Regions from separate parts of the Homo sapiens genome. Here region 1 is linked to region 2. The links are contacts of gene promoters, found by promoter capture Hi-C in blood cells and fetal thymus (Javierre and others, 2016). All regions are on one chromosome and are shown on one strand. The core of a region is centred on a gene start or on the middle of the fragment in contact, and the rest is flanking DNA. Distances in the headings are between cores, read along the strand shown.

Region 1 (6,080 bases), core at 2,220-4,719, 310 kb after region 2:
ACACACACACACACACACACACATACACATATATATTTTTTTGAGACAGAGTCTCACTCTGTCACCCAGGCTGGAGTGCAGTGGCCCGGTCTTGGCTCACTGCAACCTCTGCCCTCTGAGTTCAAGCAATTCTCCTGCCTCAGCCTCCTGAGTAGCTGGGATTACAGGTGCCTGCCACCGTGCCCGGCTAATTTTTTGTATTTTTAGTAGAGACGGGGTTTCACCATCTTGGCCAGGCTGATCTTGAACTCATGACCTCATGATCCACCTGCCTTGGCCTCCCAAAGTGCTGGGATTACAGGCATGAGCCACCATGCCTGGCCTCTTTGAACATATTTTAGACAGTTGGTATGAAGTCTTTGTGTAGTGGATCCTCTCCCAGCTCTTTTGCAGGGATGGTTCCTGTTGGTCTATTTTTTATTTTGAATGGGCCATACTTTACTGTTTCTTTGTATACTCTTGTTGGTTTTGTTTTTTTTTTTTTGGTCAAAAACTGGACATTTGAATCTAACACTTTAGTGACTCTGAAAATCAGAATTTCCCCTTTCTCCAGGGTTTGCTGTTTTTTGCTTTTGTATTTGTTTGTGTTTTGCTTTTTTGTTTTTTTGGAATTGTTGTAGACTGTCTTGGAGCTAAGGACCAGCTTGAGGTGTAACCTTAAGGTCTTCTCAGGCCTTTTCTGAAACTACGCCTTCCCCTGGGCATGCTTGGTAGCTTTCTAATTTCCCCTGTATATGCAGTTGCTTTTGAATGTCCTACTTTTTATTGTCTGGCTCCAAGAAGGGGAAATAGAGAGAAATTAAGGGGGAAAAAGTCACCAGTCCTTTAAGTCCCCTGGAAGTCACTTTACCAGCAAGGGAGGGGCTTGTAACAATGGGAGAAGGTGGCCGGGCGCGGTGGCTCAGGCCTGTAATCCCAGCACTTTGGGAGGCCGAGGCCAGCGGATCACGAGGTCAGGAGATCGAGACCATCCTGGCCAACACAGTGAAACCCCGTCTCTACTAAAAATACAAAAAAGTAGCCGGGCGTGGTGGCGGGCGCCTGTAGTCCCGGCGACTCAGGAGGCTGAGGCAGGAGAATGGCGTGAACCCGGGAGGCGGAGGTTGCAGTGAGCCGAGATCGCGCCACCGCACTCCAGCCTGGGCGACAGAGCGAGCCTCCGTCTCAAAAGAAAAAGAAAAAAGGAGAAAGTGCAAAGTGCAATAACAAGGGTTGCTGCCTCTTTGTCTGCACTTCTGTGATCAGATGAAGCAATCAGTGATCAGAACAGAGACTCAATATCTGGAGGACAGGGTCTCTCATACCTACCCTGGCTCCTGTCATCGATCTGTAAGCTGCTCCAGGAACGTGCACAGTTGCCTGCTGTGGGGATGAGAGGTGGGGAACAGGCAGCTGCAACTATGCTAAGAGCTCACTGACCAAAATTAACCACAATGTACCATCCGAGTCTTCCTGGAAGTTGCAGGCCTTCAATGGACTTCAGAGTTCCAAAATAGCTACAACAGACAGATTCTGTGAGTATTATTGTCTAGGTGAGGAGAGAGATTTCTCAGGCTTCCTGCTCCTCCATCTTCCCAGAATTCTCTACTTGGTCATTTTATTTTTAACAAGGCTTCTAAGACCATTCACCACGAGAAGAAATGGCCTCTCCAACAACTGGTGCTGGTACCGCTGGATAGCCATAAGCAATGAAGTTGAAACTTTACCTCACACTATAGACAAAAATTAACTCAAAATGGATCAAAAATTAACTCAAGGCCTAAATGTAAAAATGAAAATATAAACTTCTGAGGAAAGCCAAGTAGTAAATCTTCATTTGGCAATGGAAGCTTAGCTAGGATATTCAAGAAAAGAAAAAACGGATAAGTTAGACATCAAAATTAAGACATTTTTGTGCATCAAAGGACATTATACATTTAAAAAACCATGGAATGAGAGAAAATATTTGCAAATCAAATGTTTGATAAGGAACTTTATCTAGAATCTATACAGAACAGTTACAAGTCAATAATAAAAAGACCACAAATAACCCAATTAAACATGGGCAAAGGATCTTAATAATTTCTCCAAAGAAGATGTGCAAATGGCCAAATCAGCACATGAAAAGATGCCCAGCATCATTATCCACCAAGGAAATGCAAATGTAAGCCACGAGATACCACTTTATTCCAACTAGGATGAGCATAAGCAAAACAATGGAAAATAAACGTTGTTGGCAAAGATGTGGAGAAATCAAAGAGTTCTCATCTACTGCTGGTGGGAGTGGTAAGTGGTATGGTCACTTTAGAAACATTATGGCACTTCCTCAAAATGTTAAACATCAAGTTACCATATGACCCAGCAATTTCCCTCACAGGCATACGTAGATCCAGGAGAAGTGAAATGAAAATGTAGGTCCACACAGAAATGTGTGCACAAATGCTTATAGCAGCATTATTGAGAATAACCCAAAGATGGAAACAATTCACATGTCCGTCAACTAGTGAATGATAAATACCACGTGGCGTATTCACACGGTGGAATATTCTCACATGATAAGAAATGAGGTATAACAGAGGAATCTTGAAAACATCATGCTAATTGAAAGAAGCCAGTCAGGGCCGGGCGCGGCGGCTCTCACCTGTGATCCCAGCACTTTGGGAGGCCGAGGTGGGCGAATCACCTGAGCTCAGAAGTTCCAGACCAACCTGGGCGACGTGATGAAACTCTGTCTCTACGAAAATACAAAAAAAAAGTAGCCAGGCGTGGTGGCGGGCGCCTGTAGTTCCAGCGACTCAGGAGGTTGAGGCAGGAGAATCGCTTGAACCCAGGAGGCGGACCTTGCAGTGAGCTGAGATGGCGCCACTGCACTCCAGCCTGGGCGACACAGCAAGACTCCGTCTCAAAAAAAAAAAAAAAAAAAAAAAGCCAGTCTCAAAAAAACTCACGTATTATACTAGTTCATTTGTATGAAATGTCCAGAGTGGGAAAAGACGTAGAAAGTAGATTACTGGTTGTTTATTGGTTTGGGTGGGGGAGGGATGGAAGCATGAGGGAGTGTTACCTAAAGAGTGTGGGGTTTCTTTCTAGTGGCAGAAACATTCTCCTGATCACAGGGTCAGGAGTTCAGTTGTGCTGATGGCTGCAGCACTCTGTGAATATACTGAAAGGCACATTAAGTATACGGTATGTGAATTATATCTCAATAAAGTTGTTGCCAAGAAATTGACAGCACAGTTTACGCAGGTTAAATAGTTAAGAACTACATAAACACTACAATCAATGCGGCATTTTACCCTGTACAAGACCTCAAGGCTGCTTGTTAAAGTGGTTTTGGAAGGGCTGTAGCTTATGGTTTACCGTGAGGTGGTGGAAGGGAGGTTGTCTGAAACTGGGTGGGGTGGAAGTTTGTCCGGCCAAATGTGCACGGCTGTGGCTCGTCACACACCCAGCTGGAAGTGTGCGCGTGTGCTTTCTGCGCACTTCTACGTTGCTTGAGCAGCTGGACTGGGCATAATGTTCTGCATGCACTTGGTGTGTTTTGCAAATGAAATCGTGTATGAACAAATGCAAAAGTCACATTATGCTCAAATTCCCTCCAATATGTCAGTGCATTGAATAAAATGGCAATATTTATTTATTTAGAGACGGAGTTTTGCTCTTTTCACCCAGGCTGGAGTGCAGTGGCACGATCTCGGCTCACTGCAACCTCGGCCTCCCAAGTTCAAGTGATTCCCCTGCCTCAGGCTCCTGAGTAGCTGGGATTACAGGCTCCTGCCATCATGCCCAGCTAATTTTTGTTTTACGGTTTGTTTTGTTTTGTTTTTTTTTTTTTTGAGACGGAGTCTTGCTCTGTCACCCAGGCTGGAGTGCAATGGTGCAATCTTGGCTCACTGCAACCTCTGCCTTCCAGGTTCAAGTGATTCTCCTACCTCAGCCTCCGAAGTAGCTGGAATTGCAGGTGCCCACCACCACGCCCAGCTAATTTTTCTATTTTTGGTAGAGACAGGGTTTCGCCATGTTGGCCAGGCTGGTCTTGAACTCCTGACCTTAGGTGATCCACCTGCCCTGGCCTCCCTAAGTGCTGGGATTATAGGCATGAGCCACCATGCCTGGCCCTAATATTTAAAACAAGTATTATAGCATAACTGGCTGTAGCTGTATGCTTATATTTAAAATGTCTCTTGGCTTAAGAAAAACAGACTGACAATCTTTGACTTTAGTCCATTTACATTTAATGTAATTACTGATATATTTGGGTTGACATCTACCATATTACTATTTGTTTTCTATTTGTTTCATCATTCTGTGGTTCATTTATTCCTTCTTTCTTACAGTTTAAGGATCCATCAAGTTTTTTATTATTTTATTTTATTTTATTTTTTCTCTTCTATTAATGTGGTAGATGGCAAAGATGGCCACCATGCCTCACTTCTCCTTATATTCATGCACTTTTACAATGTGTGTTTGTAGCTTCTCCTGTTAAGGATGGAAGTCAGGGGCCGGGCGCGGTGGCTCACGCCTGTAATCCCAGCACTTTGGGAGGCCGAGGTGGGTGGATCACAAGGTCAGGAGTTCGAGACCATCCTGCCTAACATGGTGAAACCCCATCTCTACTAAAAATACAAAAAAATTAGCTGGGCGTGGTGGCGGGTGCCTGTAATCCCAGCTACACGGGAGGCTGAGGCAGAAGAATTGTGTGAACCCAGTAGGTGGAGGCTGCAGTGAGCTGAGATCGCACCACTACACTCCAGCCTGGGTGAGAGAGAGACTCTATCTCAAAAAAAAAAAAAGAAAAAAAAAGGAATTGAAGTCAATTTCTCCTCCCTTTGAAAAAGAAACGGCCTCTTAGCCATGTTAATTTAATTCAGCAAAAGTGACGATGTGAAGACCTTGTCCCTTTACAATCTTACGACATTGCCACTGCCATATGTAGCATGCCCAGGTTAGCCTGCTGGAGGGTGGGAAAGAGAAGGGGGATCACAAAGGATGAATGACTCAACTGTGAATTTCAGATTAAATGTTCTGAAATGCAGAGCAGAGCAAACATCCTGAAAACTGGAAGACTTTTGATTTGCAAGTGCTTGGTGGTAGACAAAGAAATACTTTTGCTTTGAACTCCGAAAAAGTCAAGCTTGGAGGACTCAGACCACAGAGTTTACAAAATGAAGGCATGAAGTGGGAAAGGAAGCAGCTATGGCATAAGAGCCATTTCCCCTGGGAAAGTTGTGCGTGCCATAGGGACACAGGAAGAAGAGAACGAGACAGGACCCTAGCAGCAGGCAGATGAGGCCTGGGTCGTCTGAGGGACTCTGTGTCCCCAGTACTTGGGCCTTGGCCCAGGAAGACACTAGGCGTGTGACAGCGGGCGGAGGACATCTCAGGCTGTGGAGGCAGTGCTTTGTGTGTTTGAGGCTTATCACGTGAGCACTGCACAGAACCCCACACCCAGCACACGGCTGGAGCACCTGCCCCATGGACAGCAGACATTTGAGGGCCAAGGGAAATGGCCACAGCGATAGGCCCAAGGAGGCCTCCCAGAGAAAGCCCTGCTCAGTGCAGGCCGGGCAGGCTGGAAAGGGGTCTCTGGGCCAGTCCCCACAGCACACACCTGGCAGAACGTCAGACCGGCCACACTGGAATGGCCAAAGACAGAGGAGACCCCAATCCTTCCTGGTGCTGGAGAGTGAACTTCGGGGAGCCTGTGCAACGTCCAGACTGGGATCACTCAGAGAGGCAGGGAGACAATGAGGGTGGGGGGAACCTTGACACTCCAGCCGTTGACCCAAGGGAGCCCGTGCTATCCTGGGAGGCGCTGCGATCTAATCTAGAAACAGCTGAACAAACTGTAGGCAGAAGTTTGTTTGTTGACACTATCTGTGGAAATGAGGGATAGTGTTGACAGCAATTTCATTCATTGATGGACAAAGAACTTCTGTGCCTCTGAGTTGTAGTGTGTAAATGTCAAAACCTCCACATTGATGTGAGAGAGGAAAAAGCCCCAGGAGGGCTTTGGTCACATAATAGACTACGCAGAGCGGACTCTCAGATGGCCGTGGAGCAAATTTGGTTGGTTTTTGGGTACTGAGGTGGGGAGATGG
Region 2 (5,966 bases), core at 2,521-5,020:
CAGCCACAAGCCAAGGAACGCGGCAGCCCCAGGAGCTGGGAGAGGCCGGCGACAGATTCTCCTCAGAGCCTCTGGAGGAGGCTCAGCCCTGAAGGTACCTTGATCTGGGCCAAGTAAAACCGATTCTGGACTTGTGGTCTCCAGAACTGTGAGCGAATACATTTCTGTTGTTTTAAATCAGTAAGTTTGCAGTCATTTGTTACAGCAGCCAGTGGAGACGAACACACCAACCAGGACAAAAGACGGTGATGTCAAGGCAAGGGCTTCACCTTCTGGCAAGAACTAAGAATTCTCCAGCTCTTCACAGTGATTGTTTTTTTTTTTTTCTCCCTCACAGATTACTAAGTGCAGTATGGGACGCACAGGGACAGTTTACAAATTCGTGGATGGGAAGCGCAAATCCTTCCTGCCAAATCCCCATGCATGCCTGGTCCATGCTGCCACACTCCAGCTCATGCTGTGCCCCAGCCCAGCGTGCCTGCCACCCCCTCCTCTCTGCAGGGCCCGTGCTCGTGTCTGGGTCCTTGTGGCACTGCCCCAGGTCCCTCCCCTTCTTCCTAGGAAGGTCAGCTCCTGCCTCTGTTGTGCAGAGTCCCATGAGTGAGGGAGGCAGCTGGGAAGGACTGGGAGAACAGGCGAGTTTGTGTCCATCACCCAAGGGGTCACCCAGGCCCTATTTGGAAATAAGGACTCCAGGTTGCTCATCTTCAGATTTTGTCAAGAGAAGCCAAAACTCCCACCTACTTATGTGAAATCTCCCAATTTTGTACTTTGGTAACTAATAGAGGAAAAGGTTTAAACCCTGTGCACCAAACAAAAAGATGTCTGTCTTCCCTGTTCGGCCAGTACTCTACCAGGCTGTAGCCCGTGCTCAAGGTCCTCCCTCCACAGCAGCACTGCCCTGATCGGCATCCCGTCCCTGCTGGTGACCAGTCTCTGGACTAGCCCTGCGGCTCACCTGCCCCTTCTTTGAGGGGAGGACCACACCCATGAGATCTTCGAGTCCCCCAGGGCCTGGAAAACACTGGGCATTTCCACTAGTGGCTGAATGAAAAAGGAAGCAGAGAAGGAAAGGAGAGAGACAGGGAGGAAATATTGTAAATTTTCTGTCGCAGAAAGTCAGCAAAATGCCAGCAACTTTCAGATGTCAATAAAACCAAAGTGTCATTTCAGCTAAATTCTCAGTGCACTGAAAGTTTTTGAGAATCATCTGCTGTTTGTAGAGGATCAACTACTGCCGAGTCCTGGCTTCCCATGAGAGAAGCAGCAGGATAAAGGACAGCAAGACATAATCTCAGCAGTGTCATCAGCCAAGTGATAAGGAAGGGCCTTAGGTCTCCGCCCCTGAGGGAACGGCCCAGGAGATCTGAGACCCGAGGCCTGCTCAGACGCCAGGTGCGCACAGACTTCGCAGGGCCTCAGCTTCCCCAGCGTAAAGTGAAGAGCTTATCTGGTTCTTTCTAGGAGCATCTTCACGATTCTTGCAGTATCCTTGTACTAATAGCATAATCACTACTTTTTCTTCTGCAGAATTTGATTAAATTTTCAAAAATTTAAATGAATTCATGCCAAAAGAAAACAACCATAAAAGGAAAATCAGTATCACTTGTCATACATACTCAGACCATCATCCCCCCCAAACAGACCAATGTATTCAATTCTAGCCAGCTGCTGCTGCCTGCTCTGAGCCAGGAATGGCTTCCCCTCTGCACAGGATACTTAAGCAAGTGTCAGAGAGATGTTAAGGACACGTTAGCACCAAGTTGAAACTTTCTCCTGATGTTCTTGAAAAGGAAATAACTTTCCCATGCAGGGATTCCACGACTTCCTGCTGAGCTGTGCCCTCCCCACTTCCCCCACCCTGCCCCCAGCCCCAAATCAGCAAATCTGGGAATTCTGAGAAGGCACCTAAGCCAGCACGCACTCTTTGATTCTGGCTCCGAGTGGGCACCCCCATGGACCGCAGCCACTCCTGAGCCCTGGGTGTCCTTTGGGGACCTCAAGCTCCTTCTCACATACAACCACAAGTCAGTACCAGAAAATCTGAAGATACAGGTGGTCACACCCCAAAGCTCAACCTTTCCCTAGGAGACAACGCGTGTGTGTCCCTTTAAGAAGCAGAACAAAAACACTTGTGATTTTGTGAGCTGGAGGAGGTAGAGCCCCCCCAAAGCTCAGAGAGACTTGGGAAAAAGCAAGATGCCAGTAGGAAGGAGGATGACAGGCAGGGGTGGCAGTGGGGGCAGAGGAGCATCTGAAAGGAAGGGGAAGGGGAGCCTCTGGTGCTGTGGGCAGACCCTCCTGGTTCAAGGGTCTCCTGCACAAGTCTGGCCCCAAGGCCACCAGTTTTGGCCAAGGGTCTTGAATGCTACACTGAGAGGTGTGGAACATCAGGGCTTGGACATCTGGCAAAACTACCACCTTTGCCTCATCTCTGCCCCCAGAAACACCCAAAGGTGGCTCTACACATGGAGAATGGCGTCTGGGAGCACGAGATTTTAGCTGAGGGTTCAGGAATTTCCACGGATGCCTGTTCAGCCTGGGTGAGGCGGCATCCCGAAGCACGCTGCCCGCTCCGCCGTAGGTCGTTCCCTTCTGCCGAGCAGCTGGCCTCCGAGACAAGAGGCCTGCACAGACCTCGGCCAGGGCTCACCGCGGGCGCACCCCACCCCGGCCCTCAGCAAAGTCAGAGAGAGGCCTTTCATGGCTTCGAAAGTTCCTCCAGGTCCTCCAGCCACAGGAGGCTGGAATGGGTAACCGAATCCTACTCAAGGAAAAAAAAAAAAAAAAAAAAGAGCACAGTGACCTTTTGTCCCAGCAGAAGTTCCCGGCTCTCTCCCGGCCAGCGGAGGCGGCCCAGCCAGGAGAGTAAAGAATTGCAGATGTGCGCTCCGGGCCGCGGCCGCCCTCCCCACGGTCCCGCAGCCACGCGGGACAGCGCGGGAGCGCCGCGGGAATCGGACGCCCGGCCCCGCTCCCCGCCCCGGACTCCCTCTCGTGGCTTCGGGCCGAGGTTCGGGCAGTGACTGCCTCTTCCCCGCGCAAAGAGGCGGTAACGCGGCAGCGACCCTTCTAGGGACCAGACGTTCCTTTGGGGTCGCGAGGAGGACGCGCAGGCCCTGCCTGAGGCACTGACGCAGCGGGGGCGACCGGGCGGGCTGCGGGGACGGCGGGGCGGGGTCGCCTCTCCTCTCCTCGGTGGGCGCGGCGGGCTGAGTCGGGATGGGCGCCCCGCACTCGGGATGCGCCGGCCTGCGCGTGGCCGCCTTTGTGGGCGACTGGGAGACGTGGAGGAGAGCGACCTCGGTCGGCATGGGGTGGGGACCCCTCTGTTACGGGGTCCAGGCCGGACCGGACCAGGTCCCTCCCCTCCGTGGGGACCGGGCCTCGGTCCCCCTCACTGTGTCCGAGACCAGGAGTCGGGTTGGGCATCCCCCACCCACACCTCCGAGACGGCCACTCGGGGAACGCGGGTGAGGGGCAGCCAGGCCCGGCCGACGACAGCCCCTCGGTAGGGGCCCGGGGCAGATCGGCGCCCCCAGCCAGGTCCTCGGCGCCTGCTTGCGGGCGGAGGCGCGGAGAGGCTGCGGCGCCGGGACCCGCGGACGGCGTGGAGGAGGCGGCTCGGGCGGGCGCGGCACTCACCGCACATCGTGGCTGCTTCTCGGGCTCCTTCGCGGCTCGAGGGGGTCTGCCCGTTCGGACGCTGGGGCTCCTCCGTGGGCTCCTCCGTGGGCTCCGTGGGCTCCGTGGGCTCCGCGGGCTCCAGCTCCCGTCCGCTCGGCCTCCAGCCCTTATAACCCGGAGCCCTCCGAGAGGGCGGGGAAGGGGGCGGGGAAGGGGCGGGGCTTCCCCCGCCCGCCTGCTCCCATTGGCCCCCGGTTGTCGTGACAACGACGGGACCCGGCCCCCAGGAGCCAGGGAGGGGGGCCGAGGGGCGGCTCCCAGGCGCGGGTCGGGCGTGTAAGGCTGGGGCGCCGGGCGCCAGATCCCGGAGCGGGGCTTAGGGCAACCAACGGCCCGAGTTCAGACCCCGACTCAACCAGAGTAGGCGTGGAAGCCGGGCAGGGCCCGATCGCGCTGTGCCTCCGCTTTCCCGTCTGTGAAACGGGGCTACCCAGGGAAGCTCCCTCCCACGGGGTGCTGAGAAGTCAGACGGGCCGCGTAAGGGGCAGAGCGAGGGGTCCGGCATCACTCGCGCGCTCCGGAAACCCGCGTGAGCCGCTGTTCCTGCCGCGCTCCCATCTGAGTGACAGGCTTGTTTCAGAGCTCCGCAGACCTCTAAGCCTGGCCCTCACCCTGCGTGGAGAGAACGCCCGGGCTTGGCGGAGAGACGAGAAAACCGAGGCTCCCGGAGGCAGACAAGGACTCTGCCAAAACCGGACGCCGCGGCGGTGGCAGAATTCGACCCTGGGATTTGCCGCGGAGCCCGAGCTTGAAGGCGAGGGTTCCGCAGGTTGTGAACGAAGCTGGAGGCGCCCCAGGAAGCCCCGACCCCACCCGCGCCGAGCTGCCCCCTCCCCAGATCTGCCTCGCGCTGCAGGCCCGCGAGGGACCCGGGGGTTCCTACGCCTGGGGTCGGAATCCGACCCCCCAGTGAGGCACCAAGGCCCGCGTTTCTCCGCCCTGGTTCCCGGCCGTCCCTCCCGTTCCCCCTGCACTCTGGGCCCCTCGTCTCCCGAGGAAGGTCACGAGAACCGGCCCAACGTTTGCGCACTTTGAAGTTTTTTTTTTTCTTAAAAAAATCCTGAAATTCTAAACGGATCCTCCTCAGTCGTGTAAAAAAAAAAAGATTTTTACATCTCGTCTAGAGCATTTTTCTAACATAATCCCTCCCTAGTTTCACCGCGACTCTGCAAGCCCTGGGGGAAGGAGGTTGTGCCATTGGAGGGTTGGGAAAACTGAGGCTCCACGACAGCGAAGGAGGGGGCTTGGGTGAGTCCTGTTGTTGGGAAATCTCAGAGCGATTCAGGAGCCGCAGCGTTTGCCCCCAACCCTCCACTATGCAGGGTCGCTTTCCTTCCTTCCTTCTCTCATTCCTAAGAACCCACTTCACACCTGTCAGGGTGCAGGTGCAAGAGACTTATTGATGAATGAGAACAGATCTGGCCCTGCCCTCCTGGCACTTACAAGTGAAGGGGAAGCAGACACTAAGCTCGTGGTTACACAGAGAGCTAAAAATTCCAGGTAGGATACAAGGAGGGGGCTGGGCCAGCGGTGGAGAGGGTGCCAGGCTCTGCCTGGGACTGGGCAGGGCTGCGCTGGTGCAGGTGGTCCAGAGCCTAGCGAAGCCAGGAAGGAGGGAGCAGCAGGCAGTGCAAAGGTCCCCTGGATGAGGGCTAGAACTTGAATGTGGAGATCAGGTTGTTTGGCCCAGACTGGCCTCCACTGTTGTAACTGAGGCGGGGACAGGGTGATGTCAACAGGCCCTCTGATAGCACCAAGACCCCAGGAGCCCTGGGGTCTTAGCAGGGTCCAAATCTGTCCTTTATCCTCCTGGAGGAGTCACAGGTCCACGGTGAGGAACGGCATGAGTGCACACTACCACCCATGGGGATGTGTCTGTAGCAGCTGCCGGCCTAGCATCACTCCTGCTTTGAGAACCCTCTGAGAGTCATCTGGGAGGTTGATGGCCTGGGCCTGGCCACACAGCCTGGGCAGTGGTTCAGAGGTCAGCATATGGCCCAGGCTGGGACGTTGATGACCTGCTCCAGCACATGAGGGAAACCAGCAGAAAAGATGAACTTGGCCTGGTACAGTGGCTTGGGTCTGTCATCCCAGCACTTTGGGAGGCTGAGGTGGGAGAACTGCTTGAGGCCAGAAGTTGGAGACCAGCCTGGGCAACAGGGAGACCCATCTTTACAAAAAGTAAAAAAAAAAAAAAAAAAAAAAAAAAAAAGCCAGGCACGCTGGGTGCAATGGCTCATGCCTGTAATCCCACCACTTTGGGGGGCAAAAGTTTGAGA

The links. The method cuts DNA at HindIII sites, captures the fragments that hold promoters and counts their contacts. A CHiCAGO score of 5 or more calls a contact.
Region 1: a fragment that was not itself captured here is called in contact with the fragment with the promoter of GFPT2 in region 2 in 1 of 17 cell types (erythroblasts); the score reaches 5.2 in erythroblasts.

Annotation. Positions count from the first base shown.
Region 1 is chr5:180,663,585-180,669,664 of GRCh38, forward strand. No RefSeq gene overlaps it. Among named protein-coding and RNA genes, the nearest start is that of FLT4, 17 kb to the left of the region's middle. The HindIII fragment of the contact is 3,284 bases long and covers 1,828-5,111 here.
Region 2 is chr5:180,349,566-180,355,531 of GRCh38, forward strand. It overlaps GFPT2 (glutamine-fructose-6-phosphate transaminase 2), which reads right to left and starts at 3,771. Exons shown (of 19, transcript NM_005110.4): 1 at 3,646-3,771. The coding sequence starts at 3,652. RefSeq lists an enhancer at 1,925-2,425 and a silencer at 3,798-4,027. The HindIII fragment of the contact is 14,264 bases long and covers 1-5,966 here.